2 separate regions of the Homo sapiens genome follow, and region 1 is linked to region 2. Evidence: promoter capture Hi-C in 16 types of primary human blood cells and fetal thymus (Javierre and others, 2016). All regions are on one chromosome and are shown on one strand. Each heading gives the region's core, a stretch centred on a gene start or on the middle of the fragment in contact. The rest is flanking DNA. Distances are from core to core; before and after follow the strand shown.

Region 1 (3,621 bases), core at 858-3,357, 58 kb before region 2:
ATTTCTGACTCATCTGAATTTTGTTGACATTGTTGTATTTTATTCCAGTCGACCATTCTTTGGAAGGTCAAATGAAGGGGTGGCTTGAGCAAAGCCTTTGAAACCTCATGGTCACATTTGTGGTCTTCTGAAAATGTATGAAAGTCCTTCAAGTGGTTCCTCCAATTTGCCTTAGCTCTTCCAATCTTTAGCTTTACTTTCTGATACTAACATGTGAACTACTTAATACAAATTGGAAAAATCAGGGTTGTAAACTTGAATATTTAGTTCAAATTTCCTGACAAAACCAATAGGGTCTTGGTGGGGATGAGGAAATTCCTTAATTATGCCTTTAATGTCTACCTTTGATCATAGTTGATAAGTTAAGGCAGGTTCTCCTCTACCAGATACCAGCCATTCACAAAATGTAGCTAAAACAACAGGAGTGGGAAGAAGGGGAAGGGGAGGAAAAGAAGGAAAGGCTGGGCAGTGTCGTTCAGATGAGGAAGAGATGGGGAATAAAGAGTTGGGGAAGCAGAAGGAGGAGTAAAAGATTTGGCAGTTTTTTTTTTTTTTAATTTAGAAATGGTTTTAGAGGGCTTTTAATTTTCTTCCTGTAGAGGAAGAACTTTGTCAGAGCGCTTTTCAGATGCTTCTAAGTACTGTTAGAAGTAACTCTCCCAATTATTTTCTTTAATTTTAGAAATAGCTTTTTCTAATTGTGCACATAAATAAGCTAATTTAGGTATTTCAAAGATAGCCCACTTTGGTCATTGTTGTTTGGGGTCTTCATGGGTTAAGAAAGACAACTTTTCTAGATATTGACTGGAGGTTGCACCACAATATTATACAGGAATCCAGCTGGAATTTCTAAAGGTGGATCTCTCCTTAAAAAGGAAGACTCAGTTTTAGATGGATGATTGCCCATAATTTGGATTCTCTTTTTAAGTGATCAAAGATGAAATGGGAAAGATGTTTTTGATCTGGTATGTTGCTTAATGGGGATTATTCCTTGAGGTGACACCAGTGAATCACTTCTCTCTTCTTCCCTGTCTTGGTGAAAGCCAGGAATCCTGGGCACTTAAGGCACTAGAAGATCAGCCCTTCATATGTGCCCACCAGGTTAAGCAAGATTTCCTGTGTGTTCTTCTTTGAGAACTCCCTACAGTACTATTGCATGTTAAGAGTAATGAGTTCAGACACTCCCGCAAGACCTTATTAGCCTAAGATGCCTTTTGGCCAGGAGAAACAGTGTCCCTTATCTTTGGTACTTATCTTCATCCTCATAGAAAGCTTTTCTCTCTTTCTTTCTTTTTCTTTCTTTCTCTTTCTTTCTTTCTTTCTTTCCTTCTTTCTTTCTTTCTCTCTTTCTTTCTTTTCTTTTCTTTTTTTTCCTTCCTTCCTTCTTTCTTTCTTTCTTTCTTTTTTTTTTTTTTTTTTTTGGCGGAGTCTCACTTTGTCACCCAGGCTGGAGTGCAATGGTATGATCTTGGCTCACTGCAACCTCTGTTTCCCAAATTCAAGTGATTCTCCTGCCTCAGCCTCTTGAGTAGCTGGGATTACAGGCACATGTCACCACACCCGGCTAATATTTTGTATTTTTTGGTAAAGACAGAGTTTCATCATGTTGACCAGGCTGTTCTTGAATGCCTGGCCTCAAGTGATCTGCCTGCCTAGGGCTCCAAAAGAGCTGGGTTTACAGGCATGAGCCACCGCACCTGGCCATCCTCATAGAAAGTTTTTCTTTTTGGTCACTCAGAAACAAACAAAACAACTTTAGATATGTCAAATGAACCAAGCTTCAGAGTTTAGCCAGGTTTTTTTCTTTTATGCAAATTTTGCTTAAGCCACATTCACTTCCTCTTTTCAGAGAGAGAAACTTTCTTTCCCTGACCAAAATTCAAATGAGAGAAAAAGCTGTACAAATGTTAATGAGCAGTTACAAATAACACTTAACCTTAGAGAAAAGTGAAAACCACAAATCTGTGAACAGAAGAATATCTAGAGAACAGACAAAAACTCTTACCTTAAAGTAGAGCTTCAATTCCAGCTCCATCAAGTGTGGAATTGGGTCACTTGAGTAAAGTCTGATTCTCAACCCAAATCAGGGAGATTCAAAACCTGAGAGGGTCTTCACCGGAGACCCTCTGCTGGCTCCAGTGAAGCCAAGTGAATGAAAACTGTTCATGCTGGTACCAGGATCCTAACTGTGGGCAATGCAGTGGGGAATCAACAGAGGCTTGCTTTAGGTCCTTTCATGGTTGCCAAAATGTCAACTTGAAATAAGCGTCAGAATCTAGTTTGACTTGAAGAGAGTTTATTTTGAATTTTGAAGAGAGTTTATTCAAGTACAAAGTTTGAAGATGGCCTGGGAGACAGATTCCAAAGAATGGAAGTCAGCACTTTGAAGTGTAGAAGTTTGAGGTCACTTAACATAGATAAGGTTTAGAAAGCTTAACAGAATTTCAATATTTTTCTGTATATGGCTGAATGTATAGTTACAGTAATCCAATTAGACAAGGTAATATTTTTCTTTTCAGGAAAGGTCTATTTAACATTCCACACTGAAGATATAAAATTTGGGAGGTAATTAGTGCTACCTTAACTGAGTTAGGTACTGATAGGGTTTGGTTCTGTGTCCCCACCCAAATCTCATAGTGAATTATAATCCCCATAATCCCCATGTATCAAGGGAGGAAACTAGTGGGAAGTGATTGGATCATGGGGGCAGTTTCCCCAATGATGTTCTTGTGATAGTGAGTGAGTTCTCATGAGATCTGATGGTTTTATAAGGGGCTCTTTCCCTTTCATACACTCTCTCTCTCTCTCTCTCTCTCGTCTGCCACCATGTAAGATGTGCCTGCTTCTCTTCTACCATGATTATAAGTTTCCTGAGGCCTCCCCAGCCATGTGGAACTGTGAGTCAATTAAACCTCTTTTCTTTATAAATTACCCAGTCTTGGGCAATTCTTTATAATGGGTGAAAACAGACTAATACAGGTACAAAAAAGGAGGCAGTTAATCTATCACAAAGATCAGTGATTAGAAGGAGGTCTGGTCTCTTGTCTCTCCTCATAATTTACAGAAGAAGAACACTGAAGAAGAGAGTTAATCTATAATCTAAGGAGCAGAAATTACAACTCCATGCTCCATGGCTGAGATCACAGTCACATCTCTCAAGACTTAATGTGTTCTCTGGGGTTCCAAGAGCTTTTAAATTTTATTTATTTTCACATTCTCTATGCCTCATTTTTCTTATCTGAAAATTGGGGGTAATATTACTACTTGCTTCATGGGCTTGCTGCAATATTTAAATGACAAACAGTTCATAATGCAATTAGACCCTAGCACATGGTGAGTGCTCAAGGAACCTTGGCTGCTCTTATCACAAGGATCAGTGTATAGCAGGCATCTAAAAATATGCAAAATAAATTTGAAAAAAGTTTATGGCATAGAAGTAGATAAAGCAATCAGAACCTAGCACATGGTGAGTGCTTATTAAAAAGTACAAGTCCTTTTATTTATTTTTACATATTTATATTTTTGAGATGGGGTCTTGCTATGTTGCCCAGGCTAATCTCCTGGGTTCAAGTGATCCTTCTACTTCAGCCTCTTGTGTAGCTGGGATTACAGGCATATGCA
Region 2 (3,610 bases), core at 638-3,137:
TCTTTCTTTCTCTTGAGTATATAGGATTCTATCATTGCAAATATTACCAAAAAGCAAAACAGGGTGTTACTGAGTTTGAAACAAAACCTACAGGATGAGAGGCAGCATGATGGAGTAGAAAGAACACTGGACTAAGAGCCAGATTTTTTTCTAGAATCTGTCACTTACCAGCTAGGTAACCGTAGGCTACTTGCCCTCCTGGGTCTCAGTACGTGATATATAGAACATGGGTGGAATGGATCAAATAAGATCAAAGACCCTACAGTATGATTCAATTTTTTTTCTTTAGTAAGAAACAACTTACTGAGCTTAGCTTAGCTGATAGAGAAGGACAGAAGAGAGCAGAAATCCAGGCAGGTAAGGAGCAAGTTAGGAGTTGTGAAAGACTATCTGGACCCTGAGCTAAGGTGAAACTTTAAGAAGTTTCTCCCAGTCCTGGGATTTTAATACACTTTAGTGGGTTATCTCTAGGATCTCACTTATGAAATACTTTCTTTTATGCCAGGAGTATGAACAAATATCTTGCAATATTTTTATTACATGTGTATTTCCCCATTCATACTATCAAATTTCTGGATCTAAAATTAAACGACTAAAAAGTAGATTACTGCAAGGGTAAAATGAACCACTGCTTGGCTTGAAACACTGTACTTGGTTCTTCAAGACCTTAGAAGTTCCGTCACTAACGAACTAATGCTAATACATGGTTGTGATACTTTTCACATTCAGCACTTTTAATATACATTCATTAATTTTATGTGAAATCAAAAGTAGTAAAATTGTCATTAATGAAACTAACGGTTACAAAGGCGAAAACTAAGAATAATTTATTGGCTTTGGTTTCTAAATTGCTGTTCCAGTGCCTCAGTGAAACACTTTTACACCCATGCTGTACTGTAAACATGATTTATCCACTTATATTTATTTAGTTCATGGCTCCAATTCAGGGCAATAAAACAAAGGTAAAACCTGAGACAAGGCAGGGCAGGTGTTAAAAGTATAATCGTTGCTTTATTATATCTGTAATCAACAGAATCAAAAGTATAGGCGCCTTTTCTTTTAGAAGGGAAGAAAAAGTTATTTCACTTGTACACGTAACAGAGTTTTATATAAAATGTTATTTTAATATTGTCATTATATACTACCTAATTCGTTAGGTGAGTTTATTTTCAAAGACTTTCGAAACTTTTTAATGTTCAGAAAACTTTTTCCATTTTACATTAAGAGCGATCCAATATTTATTAGTTAACGATTTGAAGGTTTCCTACCTCTGAGGAGGAATAAAAGGTAGGCAGAAGATTAAAATGAGTCCTATTTCGGCATAAAGAAAGGTTGCCACTGCAGCCCATTGGAGTGTCATTTTTTTCTTCACACCTAAATGGAAAAACACTTATTTTCTCTTGCTTCCTTTCAAACAAAACCGGGTTCAAGGCCCCGAGGCGCAGCGTTTTTGTCCAGGGGATGGACAGTGTTCCACCTTCCCCCACCTGGGAAGGCAAGCACGGACCCCGGTCAGGAAGGGGAAAAGGGTGGCCCGGGAAGCGGGTGTCGCCACCTCCCTGGGAGTCGTGGGAACTGGCGAGGCGGCTCGCTGGCCACTGCCTTTTCCGCCAGCTTCGCGGCGACAGAAGCCCAACGCCTCCCTCCACCAACGCCCGGCTTCCCGGCCCTCCCGCTCCCAGAAGGCGCCGCGGGCCCTCGACCACCGCGCCGCGGACCGGGCCGGGCCGGGTCGGGCCAGGCCAGCTCCGCGGGGTTCTCCAGACCAGGCAGCGGCGCTCTCCCTCCGCGGCCTACGCCCCACGGGTCCCCGGGTCGCAGAAGCCCTTACCCGCCGGCAGCCCGCCTGGCTCCCTGCGCTGCTCCGCGGCCGCCGACGCGCGGGACGTCAGACGCCGCGGCTGGGCGGGGGAGGGGAGCCAGGGCCCCACCCCGCCTCACGCCCCGCAGGCTCCCGCCCGCGGGTCCGTCCCGGCTGAGGTCACAGGCGGCGCGACCACGTTTATTGGCAACAGTTGTTTTCTAATTGGCGGCAGGTCAGAGAATGAGTTAGACTTTTGACCTGATGCTTGGAGGTCGGAGCGCAACTTCTTCAGGAGGACAGACTTTCCACTGCTAAGTGCGGCCCCGGCGGGAGGGTGCCGGGGTCCAGGTCTAAGGAGCGGCGCCGGGCGGCGGGGCTGGATTGGGTGGTGCAAATTCAGCGAACGCGCTTAAGACGCACTCCTTTCCGGTCACCTACTCTCTCTTCATGGTGGGAACTGTTTGTGTCCAGAATTAAGCTATATTTAATAAAGGGCCAGGATGAGGTGGTCGTGCAGCATTTTGTTCTGGAGAACCTAGGATCAACTGTATGTCACAACATATTCCGTAGGCGTTCCCGTTCCCGTCCATGGGCTGGGAAGAGACAGTAAACTTTACCGTGATGTTTGGGGACTGGTACGAAAGGTGGGTATGGGGATATTCTTTCACTATTTTCCAGCTTTTCAAACTGTGCGTGTACATTTAAGTTGTTGAGTTTTTTCAATATTGACAACGTATCAGGAATTTAATAAAAGTACTATCCTGGTAACAATTATTTGGGGAATAGTAAATAAATGTTGAAAATTGATAATTATAGAATATAAAACATTCAAAAACACATTTAAGTTGGTGCTTTTTCTTAATTTATCACTAATATTCTGGATCACATGTAACAGAAAAAATAGAAAAATAGACTTTGAACATAAATTAACCATAAGGAAGATTTTTTTTTTTTTTTTGAGATGGAGTCTCCCAATGTCGCCCAGGCTGGATTGTGGTGGTGCGATCTCGGCTCACTGTAGCCTCTGCCTCCCAGGTTCAAGTGATTCTCTGGCCCCAGTCTCCAGAGTGGCTGGGATTACAGGCGCCTGCCACCATGCCTAGCTAATTGTTGTATTTTTAGCAGAGACAGGGTTTCACCATGTTGGCCAGGCTGGTCTCGAACTCCTGGACTCAAGTGATCTGCCTGCCTTGGCCTCCCAAACTGTTGGGATTACAGGTGTGAGCCACCGCGCCTAGCCAGGAAGTTACTTTTTTTTTTTTTTTTTTGAGACAGAGTCTTGCTCTGTTGCCCAGGCAGGAGTGCAGTGGCGCAATCTCAGCTCACTGCAAGCTCCACCTCCCAGGTTCACACCATTCTCCTGCCTCAGCCTCCTGAGTAGCTGGGACTATAGGCGCCCGCCACCACGCCCAGCTAATTTTTGTATTTTTAGTAGAGACGGGGTTTCACCGTGTTATCCAGGATGGTCTTGATCTCCTGACCTCGTGATCTGCCCGTCTTGGCCTCCCAAAGTGCTGGGATCACAGGCGTGAGCCACCGCGCCCGGCCAGGAAGTTACTTTTAATCAAAAGTGTTAGAACTTCTTGCCCATCCACGCTGGTTCCTTCCAAACACCGAGCACATTACTCTAGTGATGATGCTGTGCTCACAACACTAGGGTAATTCAATTCAGAGTTCTGACCATACCTCCCTATTTTGTACAGTATTCATAGAAAATGAAACAGCGAGTTATCTTTAAAAAAAAAAATGCATTAACTGAAAAGTGAAAACAGAATGTACTGAGAAAAAAGATGGCACCACAGTGCT

Evidence for each region. Contacts are between HindIII fragments. The CHiCAGO score rates a contact against its expected background, and 5 or more counts as called.
Region 1: a fragment that was not itself captured here is called in contact with the fragment with the promoter of BCAP29 in region 2 in 2 of 17 cell types (total B cells and naive B cells); the score reaches 6.5 in total B cells.

The regions. Positions count from the first base shown.
Region 1 is chr7:107,636,983-107,640,603 of GRCh38, reverse strand. No RefSeq gene overlaps it. Among named protein-coding and RNA genes, the nearest start is that of SLC26A4, 22 kb to the left of the region's middle. RefSeq lists an enhancer at 1,887-2,036. The HindIII fragment of the contact is 654 bases long and covers 1,781-2,434 here.
Region 2 is chr7:107,578,523-107,582,132 of GRCh38, reverse strand. BCAP29 (B cell receptor associated protein 29) reads right to left here and starts at 1,887. Exons shown (of 8, transcript NM_018844.4): 1 at 1,832-1,887; 2 at 1,269-1,374. The coding sequence starts at 1,360. DUS4L-BCAP29 (DUS4L-BCAP29 readthrough) reads right to left here. Exons shown (of 13, transcript NR_163941.2): 7 at 1,269-1,374. DUS4L (dihydrouridine synthase 4 like) reads right to left here. Exons shown (of 8, transcript NM_181581.3): 8 at 3,610. RefSeq lists an enhancer at 1,380-1,449 and a silencer at 1,540-2,029. The HindIII fragment of the contact is 6,036 bases long and covers 1-3,610 here.